Regions from separate parts of the Homo sapiens genome. Here regions 1 and 2 are each linked to region 3. The links are contacts of gene promoters, found by promoter capture Hi-C in blood cells and fetal thymus (Javierre and others, 2016). All regions are on one chromosome and are shown on one strand. Each heading gives the region's core, a stretch centred on a gene start or on the middle of the fragment in contact. The rest is flanking DNA. Distances are from core to core; before and after follow the strand shown. Region 1 overlaps LIMS1 (LIM zinc finger domain containing 1). Region 2 holds the start of LIMS1 (LIM zinc finger domain containing 1). Region 3 holds the start of LINC01594 (long intergenic non-protein coding RNA 1594).

The links. The method cuts DNA at HindIII sites, captures the fragments that hold promoters and counts their contacts. A CHiCAGO score of 5 or more calls a contact.
Region 1: a contact is called between a fragment that was not itself captured here and the fragment with the promoter of LINC01594 in region 3, in 3 of 17 cell types (M0 macrophages, megakaryocytes and M1 macrophages). The highest score is 10.8, in M0 macrophages.
Region 2: a contact is called between the fragment with the promoter of LIMS1 here and the fragment with the promoter of LINC01594 in region 3, in 3 of 17 cell types (M2 macrophages, M0 macrophages and M1 macrophages). The highest score is 7.8, in M2 macrophages.

Annotation. Positions count from the first base shown.
Region 1 is chr2:108,578,054-108,582,336 of GRCh38, forward strand. All of the region lies in intron 1 of LIMS1 (LIM zinc finger domain containing 1), which reads left to right. Among named protein-coding and RNA genes, the nearest start is that of LIMS1, 46 kb to the left of the region's middle. The HindIII fragment of the contact is 1,538 bases long and covers 494-2,031 here.
Region 2 is chr2:108,532,841-108,536,715 of GRCh38, forward strand. LIMS1 (LIM zinc finger domain containing 1) reads left to right here and starts at 1,630. Exons shown (of 10, transcript NM_001193483.3): 1 at 1,630-1,754. The coding sequence starts at 1,723. GCC2-AS1 (GCC2 antisense RNA 1) reads right to left here and starts at 1,379. Exons shown (of 3, transcript NR_135290.1): 1 at 989-1,379. RefSeq lists silencers at 493-787, 1,276-1,875. The HindIII fragment of the contact is 7,547 bases long and covers 1-2,885 here.
Region 3 is chr2:108,216,553-108,220,447 of GRCh38, forward strand. LINC01594 (long intergenic non-protein coding RNA 1594) reads right to left here and starts at 1,289. Exons shown (of 5, transcript NR_131251.1): 1 at 1,143-1,289. The HindIII fragment of the contact is 2,331 bases long and covers 736-3,066 here.

The DNA.
Region 1 (4,283 bases), core at 13-2,512, 360 kb after region 3:
TGTCCGCCACTGCGCCTGGCTAATTTTTGTATTTTTTAGTAGAGATGGGGTTTCACCATCTTGGCCAGGCTGGTCTCGAACTCCTGACCTCGTGATCCACCCGCCTTGGCCTCCCAAAGTGCTGGGATTACAGGCATGAGCCACCGCGCCCAGCCTGTATGTTTTGATACTATAGAGAGGTATACAATAAAATTGCCTGTTAGTCACCATTTCTAATTATGGTTCATTTTATCATTCAATTATTTTTAAGAGCTTATTAGCATGTGTATATGTAAAGATGTGTTTCATATATTTTTAATCTCTACATCCTTTCATATTTTGTTATACTCTCTTTAAATGCAAGCACTTATTTTGAAGTAGTTTTAAATGTTATAATATCTCCACCATATGAAATAAGGAATATCTGCACTTTCCTCCACCCCCTTCTCTGAGATTACTGCAGCCAGAAGGTTAATGCCTTAGCTGAACTCTTAAAAGCATTTCCGTTATCATAAGCTTAAGAAATGTTTGTCTTAGTTCATGGAATGTAAATAATTTTTTTTTTTTTTTTTTTTTTTGGAGACGGAGTCTCTCACTGTGGCCCAGGCTAGAATGCAGTGGCACGATCTCAGCTCACTGCAAGCTCCACCTCCCAGGTTCACGCCATTCTCCTGCCTCAGCCTCCCAAGTAGCTGGGACTACAGGTGCCCACCACCACGCCTGGCTAATTTTTTTGTATTTTTAGTAGAGATGGGGTTTCACTGTGTTAGCCAGGATGGTCTCAATCTCCTGACCTCGTGATCTGTCTGCCTCAGCCTCCCAAAGTGCTGGGATTACAGGCGTGAGCCATTGCTCCTGGTCATGAAATGTAAATAATTTTTAAATCTAGTTTACAAAGAAAAATGATGATGTAGGGATATCATTTTTTTGTTCCTCAAGAATAAATTTAGTCTTAAATTTCAGGTTAGCATCCTGGATTCATTATCCTATATCACTTTTTGGTATGCATTCATGGGATTTTGTAGGCAGTTTCATGCCAAAGTGTTGTGTTTTCCAAAGTCCAATTTTTTTTGACTGGTTTAACTAACATTCATTTTGAGATGATTCCAAATTTTGTAACAAAAACAACTTATATTTGAATTTTCACCTTTATAATTTTAAAAAATCTATTCTGTAGCCCTGAGATTTGGACAAAATGGTAATTATGTTATTTTATGGATATTAAAGCTGAATATAAAGAATTTTTATCGAACCAAGATGTCACAGCTCTTATAGTAAGTGGCATGATTAAGACTATAATTTTACTTGTACTCAGTGTACCTTCTACCACTATATAATGTTTCCAAGCATATGAACTTATTACTAGTCTGTATCTATGGTTTTCAGTGATGTTAAATGTGTTTTTAAAAATTTTATTAATATGTAATACACAAGAGTGCAAAAATCTTAAGTGCACAACTTAGGAATTTTCACAAAGCAAAAGCATGGTCAAATGATTTGGACTATGAATTAATATTAAAATACAATGAATTTAATATTGGATGCCTAGAGTCTCTTGATTCCAGAGAAATACATTTATTTTTAAACTTGTGTTACACTTCCCTGAATACTCATTTGAAGTGTTTCTGATTTCCTCATTTGCTCATTTGTTTGACAGTATTCACAGCGAGCCTGCCCTCTGCCAGGCATGACTGGCATGGGGCACAGCTGTGAACAGGAATCATCACTTGTAACTTGAGGTCAGACTAAAGGACACAGGCAAATTCCTGTGGAGCAAGAGGGCCTTCCGGAGAACTTCCCAGAGGAAGCGACCTCTTGACTGAGTCCGAGTGTGAATGGGAATCATCCCAAGAAGAGTTTAGGGAGGAAGGCAAGAGGCACCAGGCCAGGAGGGCTGTTGAGATGTGACAGGCAGATCCGCAGGGCTGCAGCCTGTGCAGTGAGGGCTGGAGCTGGGGGATGCCGGGTGGGAGCAAGGACAGCCAGGTCCGTTTTTACTGGCACTGTAGTTTCCTTGATTATCAACAACAGGAATAGACTCAGGCAAACAGAAGCTTCAAAGAAATTTACTGGAAAAATACTGGGGTTGCTCCCAGAATTGAAGAATGGGCTGAACTTACAGGTCTCTGAGAAGGGCAAACAACTAGGGCTTTCCCGGTGTCTCTGCAGAACTTGTGGGATGTCTCTATAGAGCAGTGCTCTGAGTTGACTTCCTCTAACTGCAGGGTGTTAGTCTCTACTCAGATTTCTAGTCTTTGAGAAATAGTATCTGATTAACTTAGTTCAAGTCCATAGTCCAAATGGACCAGGACCAGTCATTGTGGCCAGAGGATAGGAAGAAGCACCATGCCTAGTCAATCAAGGTAGGTGACTGTTAGGTGGTCAGGACAACTAGATCTGTTACCTGAAACAGAGAGTGGACGACATGGGTACCCATGTGGATGACATGACCACCCAGAAGGCAGTGTTACGGTAGCTCAGAGAAGAGGTGGTTTGGGAACAGTGATTAGGAAAGAGGGATGTTCAGAGGCCAGTTACAAGGCTGTTGCATTAATCCACATAGGAGGTGATGGTGCCAGAAGTAGATGCAGCCTGTACAGATATAAAGTAGTAAATCGATTCAGAAACAGTTAAGAGGCAGAGAAGAAAGGACTTTGCAGCTGGACATTGGGAGGTGTGTGAGGATGATTAAGTTGTTGAAGATGACTCTCAGGTTTCTCGCTTGGACTAGAACCATTGTGTTCATAGTGGTCCCTTGCATGGAGGAGAGAGAGTTTCAGGAGGGGGATGGGGCTTTCATTCAGTTATGAAGTAATAAGTTGGAGTATCTAAGCAGACCACATTTAATTTAAGAACACTTGGGTATGAACAACACTTCCCCATTAAATTACTTGTGGGGTTCCAGCTCTGCCATCAGGGCCCTCTCACTCCAGCATCGTGGCCTCTGCCAAGGTTGTTACTCTCTTTTTGTGTCCCTGGGCTGCTGAAATCTTCTCACCGTATTGCCATGGAATTTGTAACGTGCTTCCTTCTGCTTCCCTACCTTAGGCAGGTTTGGGTCTGAGTGGGTTTTGGAATGAGTATTGTTAAAGGAAGTTAAAATGAAGACCAGGCCTGTGAAATCTCTGAGCGCACAAAACCAGTTAGGCCTTATATGTTACCTCAGCCTTGCTTAAATTGCAGACATAAGCAGAACAAGTAGAGTCATTTTGATAAATGTTTATGTTAGAAGTAAAACTTAACCCCCGCCAGTCGTAAGCTGCCAACTAACATATGACTAAGTGACTAGGGGCTTTCCAACAAGGTACCTAAAAAAAGGCAATTCTGTAATTTCAAATCAATCAAATAATTTCTTTATTTTGCTTCTACGTTTCCCAGTAAATACTTGTCTCTGACTTTTTGTCATTGGGACACTAAAACTTTTTTCGTCTGGTGTTCCCCAATTCATGAATTGCTTCTTACTCAAATAAACTCTTTAAAATTGTATTGTTCCTCAGATTTTTCTTTTATAGTAACTTTCCCAAACTCAGAAAGGCCCCCAGAGCTTAGGGGCTTTTAGGACTAAGTGCTGCTATTTAGGGCTCTTTCTTAGATGTTATTATGTTTAGAAGAGGCTTGCTATAGGCTGGGCACGGTGGCTCATGCCTGTAATCCTAGCACTTTGGGAGGCCGAGGCAGGCAGATCACCTGAGGTCAGGAGTTCAAGACCAGCCTGACCAACGTGGTGAAACCCCATCGCTACTAAAAATACAAAATTACTCGGGAGTGGTGGCGCATGCCTGTAATCCCAGCTACTAGGGAGGCTGAGGCAAGAGAATTGCTTGAACCCAGGAGGCAGAGGTTGCAGTGAGCCAAGATTGTGCCATTGGACTCCAGCCTGGGCAACAAGAGTGAAACTCCATCTCAAAAAAAAAAAAAACAAACAAAAAATACTTGCTATATGATGACACTGTTTTCTTGATATAGTCAGAGTTTGAAAATATTTCAAGTTGGGGACTTCTTTGATTAAAATGTAAAGTTGATAAATGAATTTAGTTACAGTGCTTTAGTTTTACTAGTATTCAATGTTGTGTGATATTGATGAGTTAAGTCAAACCCTGACAAGCGGTTCCCTTAGGTACTTCAGTGAGTACTTCTAGCATTAATGCTTAATGGCCTCAGAAATCCTCTGGGTCTGTCGTCCTCAGCAGATCTGAAACTGTTCCCTAAGGAGCAAGTGGGAACTTGTGGAGCATTTTTAGTTTATCTCGATGGTTTCAGGAAAGGGGTACCATAGGCACTAAATGGCCTGAGGCCAGAGATGC
Region 2 (3,875 bases), core at 380-2,879, 320 kb after region 3:
TTCTCCTGCCTCAGCCTCCCAAGTAGCTGGGATTACAGGAACCCCGCCACCACAACCGGTGAAATTTTTGTATTTTTATTAGAGACGGGGTTTCACCATGTTGGTCAGGCTGGTCTCAAACTCCTGACCTCAGGTGATCCACTCACCTCAGCCTCTCCAAGTGCTGGGATTACACGCGTGAGTCACCGTGCCCGGCCTACATTTATCAATTTTTAATTTTATGGTTTATATGCTCTTTGAAAAGTCTCTCACCACTCCAACCTTACTTTTGTTTTTTTCCCTTGTTTTCTTCTGGTATTTTCATAACCTCTCTCTTTTTTTTTTTTTTTTTTTTTGTTTTTTGAACATTTAACTATTTGCTTTGTTTGGAATTTACTTTCATGTGAGGACATCAAATAGATCCAGTGTTTTCCTCCGACATGCCTCGACTGGCAGGAGACCAAAGTTTTCATTCTATTACTAGAGAGTAGCTATAGTTACAGAATCAGGTATCCTGAGAGAGATCATTTATGCCCAGGATGAATAACTTGTCTTATCTATTAAATCTATTAAATCCTTTGGAGATTTCACTTTTTTTTTTTTTTTTTTTTGGGACGGAGCCTGTTACCTAGGCTGGAGTGCAGTGGCGCGATCTCCCAGCTCACCACAAGCTCCGCCTCCCAAGTTCAAGCGATTCTCCTGCCTCAGCCTCTCGAGTAGCTGGGATTACAGGCATGTGCCACCACCACGCCCGGCTAATTTTGTATTTTTAGTAGAGACGGGGTTTCTCCATGTTGGTCAGGCTGGTCTCGAACTCCTGACCTCAGGTGATCCGCCTGCCTCAGCCTCCCAAAGTGCTGGGATTACAGGCGTGAGCCACTGCGCCGGCCCCAAAATTTCAGGTTTTGATAGACGGAATGGGTGAAGAAAATGAGAGCTAGCAAGGAAGAACAGGATGCAGAGGCAAGACTGGAAACTCTCCAAGAAAGGTTAACTTTTCTTAACTCACAAGTTAAACAAAGGCTGCAGGCTCCATGCGGAGCTCAGGCACCCAGCGGTGACCGATCCAGACCAGGTCCTCCCGGAAGCCCGGCCTGCCCGACAGAGCCTTACCACAGAGCCCCCTCAGGCGTCCTCGCCAGGACGGGGCGGAACCCTGTGTAGCTCCCACCCCCGGGACGAAGGCCGCTGCCAGGGCCGCGCAGCCACGCGAGTGGAATCAGAGGAGCCTCGAGGCAAGGAGAGCCGGGCCCCGCTCCCTGCGCCCGTCACCGCCATCCTTGTTGTAGGGAACTCGGCCCCCGAGCCGCCGCCGCGCTCCGTGGGCTCCCAATGAGCCCCTACCCCAGCCACCCGCTGCGTTTGCGCCAGCCTCCCAGACTAGCCTGGGGTGCTGAAATGGGGGCGGGCCCGAGCCACGGGTTGGGGCGGGGTCTGATGCGCGCCCCGCCCCGCAACGCCCCGCCCCCCCGCGCCTACCTCTCCAGTCCGCGCCCTTCGGCGCCCGCCCCGCCAGTCCCCGCCCCTCCTTGCCCAGCCGCTCCCGCCCCTCCCCCGCCTTCCCGCGCGGCCCGCCTCGCCTTCCCCCCCCTCCCGCGCCCCCGCGCGGCCGGCCCCTGGCCTTCCTCCCCTTCCTGCTCCGGGCCCGCCAGTAGCCGGCCGCGGCGGCGAGGGACTAGGACGCGGCTGGAGCGGCGCCGGGAGACGAGGGGCTGAGAGACGGCGGCGGCCGAAAGCGGAGAGATGCTGGGCGTGGCGGCCGGGATGACCCACAGGTACGGGCCGCACCGCGCGGCCCCCGCCACGTCCGCCCCGCAGCTCCCGGCGGGCCTTCGGGCCGGGCCGGGCCGGGCCTGGCGCGGGCGGGCGGCCGGGCTTTCCCCGCGGCCTCCCCCGGTCGGCCGGAGCCCCGACCCCCAGCGCTCGGGTGGCGGCGTGGCTGCGTCCGGGCCCGCGGAGGAGACGGCTGCTGTTCACTCCCGGGTGTCCGCGGTGGCACAGGCGCTGACGCCGCCCCGCTGCTCCGAGAGTTCCATAAGACAAATCAGTATTTGCCGAGCTAATCATTTATCTTCTAGCAGTAGGGATCAGCGGGTCGCAGACGTCTTGGTCTCAGGACCCCTCTTGGGACTAGAGGACCTGGAATGGTGGCTATCTCCATAGACTGTACTAGAAAGGAAAACCGAGACACTGAAGTTACTATTAACTCATTGAATAAATCCGTGGTATGTTAACGTACATACCACATTTTTATGCAACATAGGGTTTTGCTAAAACAAAAGAGTTCGTGGGACGACTGGCGTCCTTTACAGTTTGCGAATCTCTTGAGTTGTCTGACTTAGTAGAGACAACTACGTTCTCCCATCTCCTTTGCAGTTCAGTCTGTTGCGGTATGTTTTTATATGAAGAAAATCTGATCTTACACAGATGTGTAGTTGGAAAAGTGAGTACTGTCTTAATAGCTGTTTCAGATAATTATGGGTATTCTTTATTACTACACCAAAACTACGTAAGTGGAAGTTTCTCAAAGGCTGGTTTGGACGTGGAATCTGAAGCTACTGTCAGCGGACTTTTCACACAGTTTCGTTAAAATTCCTTGGTCTGTCTTGCAGTTTGAATGCAGCTAAAGCTCCTGTCAGTGGCCTTTGCACACAGTTACGTTAAAATTCCTTGGTCTGTCTTGCAGTTTGAATGCAGCTGTTACCCATTGTAACACCATATATTTGTCGTTTGGAAGATATTGGCTCACTGAGTTTGGCAGATCTCAAGCTGACGCATTTCATTAATAGCGCCGAATAACATTCGTTACCATCGCTATTGATTTCATTAGGAAAGTCTTTATGTTAAAAGCCGTCAGATACAAGGTGGTGTTTACAAGTTTTCCAAAATTCTCATTTTCGGTTGAAAGCTTGCTTTTTATCATTGGGAGCAAAATATTGTCAATTGTTTTCCTCAAAGTGACAGACTCACTTTGTTCAGTTTCAAGGAAGTGTCCGGCAATACAGGTTTAAATAACCCTAGTTTGTCAGTTGTTCTTTCCCGTAAAAATGGTATTTCATGACACAAGCAAGTTAATTCAGCTCATCGCTCTATTACAGAAGTGCACGCCTGCCATTTGGTCACAAGTAACAAAAAAGAGTCAAAGCTCAAGATTTGATAACAATAATTTGTACTCCTTCATCATGGACTTTTTTCCTTAAAAAAAAGTATTGACTAGTAAGTTGATATAAAATTTAAAGTATTTGTGAGATATTAAGAATAACGGATATGTAGTGTAATAAAGGAGATAATAGTTTCCTTTTAAGACCTTCAAACCTCTCTGGTCCAGTGTCTCTCCGCATCCTATCCCCTTCCCATCCTGAATTTACCATTAGTAATTTACTTTTTGGAGGGAGAGTAATAAGTTCATTCAAATTATTGTGCATCCGTAACCATCATACATGTCCAGAAATCTTTATCTTACAAAACTGAAACTCTGTACCTATTAAACAATAATTCTCCATTCCCCTCCTCCCGCCAGTCCCTGGCAGCCATCATTTTAATTTCTGTCTATGACTTTGACTACTGCTGGTACCTCATATCTCATGTAAGTGGAATCATACGCTATTTGTTGTGCATGTCATAGTTTGTTCCTTTTTGTTGCTCAGTAGTGCTCCATGGTATGGATGTACAGCAGTTTAACTGTTCACATGTTTGAAGGACATTCAGGCTGTTAGTTTTGGGCTATTAAGAAAGCTACTACGAACAAATAGACAGGTGTTTGTTGTTGTTTTTGAGACAGTGTCTTGCTTAGTCACCCAGACTGGAGTGGAATGCAGTAGCATGATCATGACTTACTGCACCCTAGACCTCCCAGGCTGAAGCAATCCTTCCACCTCAGTCCCCCAAGTAGCTGG
Region 3 (3,895 bases), core at 39-2,538:
GATTTTGAAATGTAAACTAACATGAGGTTTGCATGTTCTCCAATACTACTACTAATTTTTGAGTTATGTTAAAGATTTACAATAAAACATTCAATGTCCTTCCCAGATAACTTTGTGATTTAGTTCTAAGTTGCTTTATTATTTCCACATGCAAATACGTAATTTATTTCTTTGTCCATCAGCTGTTAATATTTTTGACTTTTTCCTTTTTATATAGCAGGAGATTAAAAGAACGTTTCATAAACACTCAAGTGCACCTTTAAATGCTGGGTAGGTCGAGTGGCATAGTGAAATATAGATATTGAGGAACATTATTATGTGTTTTCGTAAAACTAGACAGTGGACTCATTAGAATAATGTGGCAAAGAAATTTTAAAAATAATCCTTATAAAAGAAACATCATAAAAACAGAGAAAAAGGCTTAAATAGTATTACAGCTTTTATGTTACTTCTGCTTTCTATCTCTTCTTTCTCTGGCTCGCTTCTTAGATAATCTCATTCTCTCACATGGATTTTAAATTTCTGCAACATGGTACCATCTTCCAAATTTTTATCTCCACCTCAGATCTCAACCCTGAATTCCTAAATTGTCAGCCCAACTGCCTACTTCATATCTCTACTTCCTTGTTTTATATACATTTCAAACAGAAAAAGTCAAACCCACAAACCTAATTCACCCACTGTCTTCTTCATCTCAATTAAAAGGCAACTCCATCTTTTCAGTTGCTCAGCCAAAGCTTATTCTATTTCTCTCTCTCTTGCACACTACATCCAATCCATACATCATTTGGCTCTGACTTCAAACTATATCCAGAACATGACCTCTTCTTATCAACATTACTGTGACCAACCTCCTCTGAGTCACTGGCGTGTCTTCCCTGAAGACTTGCAATCACAACCTAATGAATATCCCTCCTTCTATGTCATAATTACCCAGTCACCATATGATCCTAAATGGATCACATCACTGTGCTGATCAAAATGCTGCAGCAGTGCCCCAACCCATTCAGTCTAAGCTGAATTGTATCACGGTCTCCTGTCCTACACCATCTGTCCCCAGGTCCCTTTCTAACCACCTTCTAACCTTTGCACACTCACTTCTCTTCAGACCTAGTGACTTCCCCACTCTTCCTTGAACTCACCTAGTGTAGTCCTGCCATAGAGACTTTGGCCTGGCATTTCCTCTGCCAAGAATGCTCTTCGATCAAACAGCTACATGACCCTCTCCTCATATCCTTCAATCTTTACCCAGAAAGCATCATTTCAGTCATGTCTTCCCTGATCATTCTACTTACAATCCAGCACTTCCTGGTTCCCCTTATTCTGCCCTAATCATTTCCATCACAAGTATCATCTCTTCTAACATACTCTACACTTTGCTCACTAAATTGGAGGCTCCAGGAAGACCATTCTCAGCCTCTGCCCATTGCCCAACAATCACATGGCCAGAACTAGAGATGATTTACAAAGGCAACATTCAAGGCCTCCCACAGGTATCCAGTGGACTGAATCTCAGAATTCTACCAGCATTGTTTTCTCACAAGAGATGCCTAGGTTATGGTTGGATCTCACATGGAAAAATATACAGGATGAGTATTCCCTGGGAAAGAGATTGCCATGGTTTGGACATTTGTCCCTTCCAAACCTTATGTTGAGATCTGATTCTAAATGTTGGAGGTGGGGTCTAACAGAAGGTGTTTGGGTGATAGTGGGAGACCCCTCAGGAATAGATTAATACCCTCCCCAGGAGTGAGTGAGCTCTTGCTCTATTCCTTCCCACAAGAGTTGGTTGTTAAAAAGAGCCTGGAAACTCCCTTCTCTTGCTTCCTGTCTTACCATGTGATTTTTGGATGCACTGACCCCCTTCACCTTCTGCCAGAAGTGGAAGCAGTCTGAGTCCCTCACCACGTGTCCAGTCTTCCAGCCATCAGAATTATGAGCCAAATAAACATTTTTTAAAATAAATTTCCCAGCCTCAGCTATTCCTTTATAGTGACACTAAATAGTCTAAAGACGGGGTGGTGGTCAAAATTCAAGCATCTTTCACCATAATGAATTGAATGTGCTGTTCATTAGTGAGACTCTGAAGACAATCTGACTTTTGACCTCTTGGGTAAAAGGTACACAAATTTAACCTTAATCATTGCACTTAATGGCCAGACTTTTTAAAACCATGAGTTTAAAAGTGTGATTCTTAGGGAGCTAGCCTGATTCCCCCTTAGAATTTTTCATAAGTCACTGTGACAACTGCAAAATATCATCAGCACAAAGACACAGCATAAAAATGAGTTACAAATACACGTCCTTAAAGGAAATAAATTCACTACTTTCTTGTCCAAGATTATGGCTAAAATTACAGCTCATTGGCACAGATTTTATATCTATCTATCTATCTATCTATCTATCTATCTATCTATCTATCTATCTATGTAAAACACTGATGAAACTGAAAAACTTGGAACAGTATCTGGTCCAAGGTAGCTGCTTAATAAACGTCTGATGAATTGAATGGAAACTGGAAGACTATCATTTATTATATGAGTCTTTAAAGTAACAATGAAGTTTCTATTTAAATGTAATTTTTAAAGTTTTGTAAATTGTGTTGTCAGTACTGACAACAATAAAATAACCAAGAAATAATATATGAGTGCTTATTGATGAAGAAATAAATTAAATGCAGTCCAATTAGGTACCAGACAAGAAAATAATGGGCTTAAATTCTTACGAATATTATAATAATGTTCAACTAACATACTTCCACCCATCGCCGTGTACTGCCATGAGTACCTCACACTGAATTGCAAATAATTTCAACATTATTGCACCAACGTCAAAATAAGAAAATGCAGAGAATCATGGCCTTTTTTCCAACCTCATGGCAGCTTAAAAAATATATCTCACCCTTAATGCATTCTAACCATGGGCCAGGTTTGGCTGTGAGAGCTGCTGCACAGACAGAACTAATTAGTCAACACTTTATGTATGGGATGTTGGATTTTGAACATAGCAGCTTTTGGTAAAATCAGAGATTTGTCCAAGGCAGACACTGAGAAATATAACAAATTAAGCTTTGATTAAGTCAGTTTTAAATGGATGACTCACACTTTTTAACGGTTGTGAACAGAAGCCAAACAGCAAATCTGAAAAAAAAATCTAAACTCTTGTTCAGAGAAGAGATTAATCTAAATCTGTGGGGAGGGAGGAGGAAAGGGGACTCAGAGCTGCAGCACCTGTGGAGAGCCTGGGACAGTCTCCTGAAGCACAGGCCAGTGTCCTATGCCTCCCTCCGACCTTGTTAGCCCACGTGGCACAGGAACACCAAGGGCCTGGTCAATGGCTCAAGGTCTTTCCTGCTCATTCCCCCTCACTTCCTGCTAGATGCAGCTATCAACAAACCAGACTCCAGCTCTGCCCCAGCCTCCACCAGACTTCAAACCAGTCTCAAAACCGAGCAGTTTAGCCCCAAAATGCATTTTAAAACTTTTTGCCATGTTTTTTTCCTCCCTAGTCTCAAGATGTAAACTTGAAGGAAACTGACAAACATATTCACAGGTTCTGGTGACTAGGATATGGATATCTTCCGGGGCCATCATTCTGCCTATCACAGGCCTTCAACTATAAATTATCATTATAAATATTATAGATTTACAGATAAGGCTTGTCCCAGGGAGACTTGGACCAAGTCTAAGGTGCAGAGTGTTCCTGAGGGCAGATAACACTCTGTCCTCACTGAAAGGATAGTGTGTTCATTGGACAGGTACACAATGAATGGTTGTCCATTAAAGGTGGTCACGTGTTGTCAGGCCACTGTGCTCCAGCATCCAAGCAGCTGGCATAGGAGAAAGGAGAGGCCTCCGGCTGTTCCCGGAAAGACAGCATGGCCTGGCTGTTTAGA